Regions from separate parts of the Homo sapiens genome. Here all the other regions are linked to region 3. Evidence: promoter capture Hi-C in 16 types of primary human blood cells and fetal thymus (Javierre and others, 2016). All regions are on one chromosome and are shown on one strand. Each heading gives the region's core, a stretch centred on a gene start or on the middle of the fragment in contact. The rest is flanking DNA. Distances are from core to core; before and after follow the strand shown.

The links. Contacts are between HindIII fragments. The CHiCAGO score rates a contact against its expected background, and 5 or more counts as called.
Region 1: a contact is called between a fragment that was not itself captured here and the fragment with the promoter of BTBD2 in region 3, in 1 of 17 cell types (neutrophils). The highest score is 6.5, in neutrophils.
Region 2: a contact is called between a fragment that was not itself captured here and the fragment with the promoter of BTBD2 in region 3, in 1 of 17 cell types (naive B cells). The highest score is 5.2, in naive B cells.

What each region holds. Positions count from the first base shown.
Region 1 is chr19:2,189,689-2,192,718 of GRCh38, forward strand. It overlaps DOT1L (DOT1 like histone lysine methyltransferase), which reads left to right. Exons shown (of 28, transcript NM_032482.3): 4 at 44-107; 5 at 1,324-1,552. Among named protein-coding and RNA genes, the nearest start is that of DOT1L-AS1, 24 kb to the right of the region's middle. The HindIII fragment of the contact is 8,550 bases long and covers 1-3,030 here.
Region 2 is chr19:2,222,143-2,225,057 of GRCh38, forward strand. DOT1L (DOT1 like histone lysine methyltransferase) reads left to right here. Exons shown (of 28, transcript NM_032482.3): 24 at 1-417; 25 at 1,139-1,344. Among named protein-coding and RNA genes, the nearest start is that of DOT1L-AS1, 8.0 kb to the left of the region's middle. RefSeq lists a silencer at 1,840-1,899. The HindIII fragment of the contact is 739 bases long and covers 882-1,620 here.
Region 3 is chr19:2,014,004-2,016,965 of GRCh38, forward strand. It overlaps BTBD2 (BTB domain containing 2), which reads right to left and starts at 1,711. Exons shown (of 9, transcript NM_017797.4): 1 at 1,294-1,711. The coding sequence starts at 1,700. LOC107985278 (a long non-coding RNA gene) reads right to left here. Exons shown (of 4, transcript XR_001753845.2): 4 at 2,342-2,962. RefSeq lists silencers at 1,308-1,357, 1,368-1,517. The HindIII fragment of the contact is 21,370 bases long and covers 1-2,962 here.

The sequences.
Region 1 (3,030 bases), core at 429-2,928, 180 kb after region 3:
GGCTCCTGCCCGCATGACCAGGGCCTTCCCTTGCCTTTTTCAGCTTCGAGAGCATGCAGAGGCTCTGCGACAAGTACAACCGTGCCATCGACAGCATCCACCAGCTGGTAGGTGGCTTGCCCCTGCCCAGAGGGGGTTAGTAGTGCCAGGCTCCCGGACCCCTCCAGACCCCTTATGTCACCGCCTCGGGGCACAGAGCTCCCCTTAGAGCCCCTGGGGATTGGAATGTGCAGCGTGGGGGGACGATGGGCTGTGGGTGAGTGGTGTGGGGGCTGCCGAGGCTGGGCTGTGTGCTGTGGCCGTGTGCCAAAGCAGAGCCGTCCGTGGTTTGTGTGCTGAGGCAGGGCCCTGAGGGTTGTGGTGTCTGCACACGCCTCTGCAGCCCTGGGTTGGTGTCCGCAGGTCCCAGCAGAGGCGGGGTCCCTGTCCTCCCCGGGCTGTGTGAATGCCGGCCTTCCCCCTTGGACCTCCCCCACACCGCCTGCCTTCATCAGGCTGGATGCCGGCCTGGGCTGCACCCTTGGGCACCCCGGTCCTGCTGTGTCTCGTGAGGCTTTCCTCACAGAGGACGGGGCACACAGTGAGCTGGGGTGTAGCAGGGAGGGGAACGTGCTGCTTCCCATGTTCTAGAAAGCACCGGGGGCCCCTGGTGCATGGGGGTAGGGGAGCTCTTTCTTGAAGGTCTTGCTGTGGAGGGAGCCCTGGTGGGGGTGGCATGGGCTCACTTGGCCCTCCTGAGTGGGACTGGGCTGGGCTGGGCTGCCCCATCAGCCTGCCACCCGGCTCTGGCTTCCCCTCAACCTCATGCATGCAGCTCTGTGGGCCCCTGAGAGCTGAGCTGGCCTGGGCGAGAGGGGACCACCTCAGCCTGCTGCAGCTGGTGGGGAGGAAGGCGGGGTCCCACGTAGTCGAGTCAGATGAGGTGTGGTAGGCTCAGGGCTTTCACGGGGCTCGTGGCACCTGACGGGGGTCCCTTGGTGTCAGCGCCCCACCCTGCTGCCTTGGCCCAGAGGAGGGGTGGTGGTCTTGGTGGCCTGTGTGGTTTTGGTGGTCTTGCCAGTGGGGAGAGAGGCCCGTGGCAGGAGGTGGAGCCTCCTAGGACCCCTCTGAGTTGGGGCCTGTCCCTGGGGATGCTGCTTTACTGCTTGTAGGAAATGGGGCTGGGTTGGAAACTGACCTGGGAGCCCGGCAGCCACCCTGCAGGGGGACGAGAGGCCATGCAGCCGACTCCCTGCTTCCGCTGGGAAAGGTCCCGGGTCTTGGTGGTGGAGGGGCTGGGCCGTGAGGTTTATGTGACATGGCCGGGCCACCCTCCGTCCGCAGTGGAAGGGCACCACGCAGCCCATGAAGCTGAACACGCGGCCGTCCACTGGACTCCTGCGCCATATCCTGCAGCAGGTCTACAACCACTCGGTGACCGACCCCGAGAAGCTCAACAACTACGAGCCCTTCTCCCCCGAGGTGTACGGGGAGACCTCCTTCGACCTGGTGGCCCAGATGATTGATGAGATCAAGATGACCGACGACGACCTGTTTGTGGACTTGGGGAGCGGTGAGTGTCGCCCGCCATGCCCGGCTCCTGTGCACTTCCAGGCCACACGCTCTGTGCCTGCCCCATGCCTGCTTGGAGAAGAGTTTATCAGGGACTTGCGACGTTGGCGTGGACAGTGCTTCCTTCTCCCAGCGCCTCTGTCCCGCTGTGGGGCCGTTCCTTTCCCCAGCCCTGACCGGGCTCCACCCAGAGGGGAGAAATCGCAGGAACCCAGTGGCTCCCAGACCAGGCCCATCCTCCCAGGTGCCCGGAGACTCTGCTTTCGTCCTGCTTCCCACCAGCTGGGGAGCTAGACCTGTGCACCCTCTACTGCTCGCTCCCAGAAGCTGCCACTCGCTAGCCTGGGCCCCAGCCCGGGCCCCACCCACGGCTGCAGCCTGCCGCAGTCCTTCCCTGGGCACACCTGCTCCCTCCACAGCGGCTGGAAAGGTCCCCCGCGGAGGAAGACCCCAGGTCCCTGGGCTCCCGGAGGCCCTCGCGCCCTCCCTGCATCCCCAGTCTCCCTCGGCACCCCTGCGTCTGGGCCGTGCCCTGCCCCTCCCAGGTTGGGGCTCCCACCTGCTGGCATTCTTTCAGCCTCTGCCTGCACTCAGACTCTGCTTGTGAGGTGTCGTCTCCTCTCAACCACGGGCGGGGCTCCTTGAAACGAGGCCCTAGGTGTGTCTTCAGCAGCAGCGTGGCCTGGCTGAAGCACAGATGAGCGGCCCGTACACGAACAGCCTCAGTAGCCTGACGAATTCTTGATAGGACCACCCCATCCAGGCTGCAGGGCTGACGGGGCCACCCAAGGGTCAGACAGTGAAGGCCCCTTCTCCACAGTGTCTAGGCTGTCCCTGGGCTCCTTGGACCTCGATGGACATGTGAACCTTGTGCCTGCAGGCACGCGAGCCCCACGTCTGCCCCCTTTCCACAGTCCTGGCTTTGACGTGGGGAAGGGGCCCCAGGGGCAGGGACCAAGAGGACTTTGCACAGACTGGGTGTGGCAGCTCACGCCTGTCATCTTAGCACTTGGAAGGCTGAGATGGGAGGGTCACTTGAGGCTAGGAGTTCAAGACCAGGCTGGTCAGCATAGCAAGATCCCACTTCTGTTTATTTATTTAAATTTATTTTCAAATTTAAAAAATGCAATAAAAAGAATGTGTATCGTCTGGACGTGGTGGCTCACGCCTGTAATCCCAGCACTTTGGGAGGCCAAAGCAGGCGGATCTGAGCTCCTGAGGTCAGGAGTTCGAGACCAGCCTGGCCAACATGGTGAAACTTTCCCTCTACTAAAAGTACAAAAATCAGTTGGGTGTGGTGGCGCGCGCCTGTAATCCCAGCTACTTGGGAGGCTGAGGCAGGGGAATTGCTTGAACTTTGAAGGCGGAGGTTGTGGTGAGACGAGATCGCATCACGGCACTCCGGCCTGGGTGACAGAGTGAGACTCCGTCTCAAAAAAAAAAAAAAAAAAAATGGGGCATATCTGGCTGGGCTCTTTG
Region 2 (2,915 bases), core at 1-2,500, 210 kb after region 3:
GCACAGCCCCGGAACTCGCTTCCTGCCTCTCCCGCCCACCAGCTCTCCTCCAGTCCCCGGCTTGGTGGGGCCGCCCAGGGCCCGTTGCCCGAGGCCAGCAAGGGAGACCTGCCCTCCGATTCCGGCTTCTCAGATCCTGAGAGTGAAGCCAAGAGGAGGATTGTGTTCACCATCACCACTGGTGCGGGCAGTGCCAAGCAGTCGCCCTCCAGCAAGCACAGCCCCCTGACCGCCAGCGCCCGTGGGGACTGTGTGCCGAGCCACGGGCAGGACAGTCGCAGGCGCGGCCGGCGGAAGCGAGCATCTGCGGGGACGCCCAGCTTGAGCGCAGGCGTGTCCCCCAAGCGCCGAGCCCTGCCGTCCGTCGCTGGCCTTTTCACACAGCCTTCGGGGTCTCCCCTCAACCTCAACTCCATGGTAAGGATGGGGACCGGCAGGGCTGGGGAGCGCGGCCTGTGAAAGAAAGACCAGAGGGAGACCGGGCGCGGTGGCTCACGCCTGTAATCCCAGCATTTTGGGAGGCCGAGGCGGGTGGATCACAAGATCAGGACATCAAGACCATCCTGGCTAACACGGTGAAACCCCGTCTCTACCAAAAATACAAAAGATTAGCCGGGCGTGGTGGCGGGTGCCTGGGAGGCTGAGGCAGGAGAATGATGTGAACCCGGGAGGCGGGGCTTGCAGTGAACTGAGATCGGCCACTGCCTGGGCCACAGAGCGAGACTCCCTCTCGGGGGGACAAAAAAAAACACAAAAAAAAACAGGTGGAGGCAGGGGGCCATGACTGAGCCCGGCCATCCTCCACCACGTGCGGCCTGGCAGCCTGGGAAGAGGCGGCCGACAGCTGTCTCTGGGGTTCGGAGTGCGATGCGCTGCCTGCAAGCTTCTTCATTCTCGGCTGTGGGGCCTTAGTGGTGGTGGGCACATCAGGAGGGGGCATGGGGGGCTCTGGGATTGCGGGGTGGTGTGTGAGGACCAGGAAGAACCAGGACAGGGGCTGTACTGGCCGCTGGGCAGGGCATCAGTTTCCTCAGGAGACCCTGGGGTGCAGACAGGAGCCTCCTGGGGCGGGGGGGCTCTCCTGCCTTGGGGTCCCGGGTCTGTGGTATGTGCATCCATTGTGTCTGTCTGCCCTCAGGTCAGTAACATCAACCAGCCCCTGGAGATTACAGCCATCTCGTCCCCGGAGACCTCCCTGAAGAGCTCCCCTGTGCCCTACCAGGACCACGACCAGCCCCCCGTGCTCAAGAAGGAGCGGCCTCTGAGCCAGACCAATGGGGCACACTACTCCCCACTCACCTCAGACGAGGAGCCAGGCTCTGAGGACGAGCCCAGCAGTGCTCGGCGAGTCCAGGGGCCCGGAGGGGGGCGGGGCCTGGCAGCAGGGGCAGGAGGTGCCTGCTCACTGTGTGTGTGTGGGTGGGTGGGTGGGGAGGACCGGCAGGCTCTTAGGGGGTGCCCTGGATGGGAGGAAGGCGTCTGTTTTGTGAGGGGCCTCCCCACAGGTCCTGGGCCCCGTTCCGGGCAGGGCCGGCCTCCCGGGCCATTCGGGGTGGGACACGAGCAGGGCCATCGGTTAGAAGAGGCAAGCTGAGGAGGAGCTGAGCGCAGCAGGAGAGAAGCTTCAGCAGTGAGGCGTTGGAGGTCTCATCCACACGTCTTGCCGAGTGTATTACAGTAGCTTTATTAGATAAAATTCACATATCGTATTCTCCATTTAAAGTGTGCAATTCAGAGGTCTTTGGTATATCCACATTACCACTGCCTAAATCCAGAACCTTCCATCATGTCCTGAGAAAATCTCATCATCCCCTTGAAACACTCACTCCCCTTCTCCTCCCAAGAGCCCCTGGCACCCCCCGCCCCCATCCTACTTTCTGTCTCTGAATCTGAGGGCTCTAGGGACCTCCTAGGAGCGGAGTCACACAGGATGTGGCCTTTTGTGTCTGGCATCTCTCACTGAGCGTGACGTCCTCAAGGTGCATCCTCGGTCCCTGTCGTGGCTGGGTGGTGCTCCACCATCCATCCGCCCTCCGTGCTAGGCTTGCTTACCCTGGGCGGTTGTGAGCAGCACTGCTGTGGCCATGGGTGTGCGTGTTTGTGTTTGGGAGCAAGTTTCCCGTTTCCTGGTGCCTGGGCGGAGGTGCTGGGTGGCCCGGCCCCCTGGGCTCTCCAGCAGCCACACCATTCCACCCTGCCACCATGGGTGCACGAGGGTCTGAGGTCCTCAGTCCCCACATCCTCAACACACTGAATTTCTTGTTTTGATTCTAGCCATCCGAGTCGTCGTGAAGTGATATAACATGGTAGGGTTTTTTGCTTTTTTTTTTTTTTTTTTCCTGAGACACAGAGTTTTGGTCTGTGGCCCAGGCTGGAGTGCGGTGGCGCGATCTCGGCTCACTGACCCTCCGCCTCCTGGGTTCAAGTGATTCTCCTGCCTCAGCCTCCTGAGTAGTTGTGTCTACAGGCACACGCTACCACCGTGCCTCGTTCGTTTTTTTGTTTTATAGAGATCGGGTTTTGCCATGTTGCCCAGGCTGGTCTCAAACTCCTGGCCTCAAGCCTTCTGCCTCCCAGTGCCTCCCAGCGTGCGCCATCACAGCCGGCCCTAAGTGTGCTTTTGGTGGTGTTCTGTGTTAGTTCGTTCTGCTCCTTGCCCACGTGTGCGTGCACGTGTTACACGAGAAACATTGTAGCACCTGGATGCTCTGTTTTGCATTGGGATTGCTCAGCTTAGTGGTTTCCAGGATCTTTAGGAATTTGTGTGTCCCTGGTGTGTTCTTGGGACATTGGATCAAAGCGACCCCATGCAGTGTGTGGTTGGGCATGTCTTCACGTGCTGGCCTGCAATGCTGTGGCATTGTTTGCCACCTGAGGCACCGAGGTCTGAGAGGGGCCGGGAGAGGGAGGTAGGA
Region 3 (2,962 bases), core at 461-2,960:
TGGTGAGGACTGGGGACGGGGGGTCTCAGGTGAGAGCGGAGAAGTCTCTCCATCCTGGGATGCAGGGGTGACACACTTGAGTGTAGTGGGGTCCCAGGGGGCCCCGGGAGTAGAGAGTGGAAGGGCAGTGGGCAGGGGTGAAGGACCTGGGGAAGGAGGGGTCCTGGAGAGTCCCTGGGTACAGGGACGGAGGGGTCACCAGTAGGGGTCCCAGGGGGAGAGGGGCGGCAGGCAAGGGTGCAGGGCCTGGGGATGGAGGGGTCCTGAGGATCCCCGGGTATAGGGATGGAGGGGTGTGGCATGTGGGGTCATGGGTCCTAGAAACAGTGGGTTGGGGTCCTGGGAATGGAGGAGCAGATAGGGGTACACGTCCCAGGGTTGGAGGGTCACAGGAGTCCCAGGGGTGGTGGGTGGGGGTGCAGGGCCAGGGCATGGAGGGGACCCAGGGATGCAGGCCAGGTGGGGTCCAGGGATGGAGGGGCCTGGGGTGTAGGCAGGGGTTCCAGCCGGAGGTGGAGGGGCCCAGGGATCTGGGGGCAGAGGTGTCTGGGGACCTGGGGTGCAGGGAGGGGTGAGGTCCAGGGATGGAGCGTCCTGGGGATGGAAGAATGGAGGGTCCTAGGGTGCAGGCGGGGGGTGGAGGGCCCTGAGGATGGGGTATTCAGGGTTCTGGGGTGCGGGCTGGGTGGGGTTTGAGGATGGAGGGGCCCAGGGGCTCCAAGTGCAGGCCGAGTTGGAGGGTCCCAGGAACGGAGGGTACCGGAGTGCAGGCTGGGTGGGTCCAGGGACGGAGGAGAGCAGGGGTCCCAGGGGTACAGGGCCTGGGATCCCGGGGAACAGGCTGGGGGCGCAAGCCAGAGGTGGAGGATCCAGGGGGGCCTGGGGATGGAGGGGTGCAGAGGCCCAGAGTGCAGGCCTGGTGGGGTCTGGGGACAGAGAGGTGCAGAGGCAGGGACAGAGGGGTGCAGAGCCCAGGGAACTGGGTGGAGTCTAGGGATGGAAGGGTGCAGGCCCCGGGGTGCAGGCCGGGTCGGTTTCAGGACCGGAGGGGTGCAGGGGTCCCAGGGACAGAGGGGTGCAGGGCCTCAGGTGCAGGCCCCGGGGTGCAGGCCGAGTTGGGTTCGGAGCCTGAGGATGCAGGGGTGCAGGGGTCCCGGGGACAGAGGGGTGCAGGGCTCGGGGATGGAGGGGTGCGGGGGTCTCGGGGACAGAGGGGTGCAGGGCCTCAGGTGCAGGGCCCGGGCAGCAGGCTGGGTGGGTCGGGGCCAGGGCTGGCGGGGTCGGGGCGCCCACCTGTGCGCGGGGATGCGCTGCGAGCTGAGCCCCTTGCCCACCAGGAAGTGCACGTCGCACAGCACCTCGTTGTTGAAGAGGAAGGCGAAGCGCTCCTGCACGGTGGGCTTGCTGGCCTGCCAGTTGTACGCGGCCTCGCGCTGCAGCGCCGCCGCCCCCGGGCCCGCCGCCTCCTCCGCCCGCTCCGCGCCCGCGGCCTGCGCGTCTGTCCCGGGGCCCGGCGGGGCGGGCGGCGTCGGCCCAGGGGCGGCGGCGGCGGCGGCGGCGGCGGCGGCGGCGGCGGCCGCGTTGCCGGGGGCCGGGGTGGCGGCGGCGTTGGCGCTGGGCCCGGGACTGCCCCCCGTGCCCGGGCCGACCCCGACCCCCGGCGGGCACGACGCACGCCCGCCGCTCCCACCCGCCGCCATTTTGTGGCTGCGGCGTGGGCGGGGGAGGGGAGGAGGGAAGGAGGGAGGGGAGGAGGGAAGGAGGGAGGGGAAAGGAGGAGAGTAGGGGGAGGAGGGGGAGGAGGGAGGGGAGGGGAAAAGAGGAGGGAGGGGAAAGGAGGGGAGGAGGGAGGGGAGGGGAAGCGGGAAGGAGGGAGGGGAGGAGAGGGAGGGGAAAGGAGGGGGAAGGAGGGAGGGGAGGAGAGGGAGGGGAAAGGAGGGGGAAGGAGGGAGGGGAGGAGAGGGAGGGGAAAGGAGGGGGAAGGAGGGAGGGGAGGAGAGGGAGGGGAAAGGAGGGGGAAGGAGGGAGGGGAGGAGAGGGAGGGGAAAGGAGGGGAGGTGGGAGGGGAGGAGGGAGGGGAGAAGGGAGGTGAATGGGGGAGGCTGTTGCAGGGGAGGGGACGGGGAGGAGAGGGAAGAGTAGGAGGGGCCTGTAGAGGGGAGGAGCTGGTGGAAGACCTCTTGCTCCACTCCCTAAGCATCCTGACCTGAAGCCCAGACTCCAGACCGAGGTCCAGAATTTGGGGTCCAGGCACCAGGCCCCAGACTCCAGACCGGGAATCCTAAACCCTGGAGCACAGACCTCAGTCCGGGATCCCAGGCCTCAGACCTTGAATCCTAGATCCCAGACTCTGAACCCCAGACTTCAGACTCCGGATTCCAGATCCCATACCTCAGACCCGGAACCCCCAACCCAAAGACCAAGCGCAAACTCCAGACCCCAGACCCCGGACCCAGGTGGCGGGCCTGCTCCGTGGCGCAGGCTCCGCTGTACAGAGACATAGCCTGAGGCCGGGAAGCTGCGGATGAGCGAGCAGGATGCAGGCCACGTGCACTGACACTCAGCAGACGCCCAGCACCCTCTCCAGGCCAGGTGTGGGGGGTGGTCAGTGTGGACGGAGCTGGGACTCCCCCAAAACGCTTACTACATACATAATGTCAAGGTAGACAAATGCCACAAAGATTGAGGAACCAGGTCGGGCGCAGTGGCTCACGCCTGTAATCCCAGCACTTCAGGAGGCCAAGGCGGGGGGTGCATCACCTAAGGTCAAGAGTTGGAGACCAGCCTGGGCAACATGGCAAAACCCTGTCTCTACAAAAAATACAAAAATTAGCCAGGCGCGGTGGCTCACGTCTGTAATCCCAGCACTTTGGGAGGCCGAGGCGGGCGGATCACCAGGTCGGGAGATCGAGACCATCCTGGTGAAACCCCATCATGGTGAAACCCCATCTCTACTAAAAAT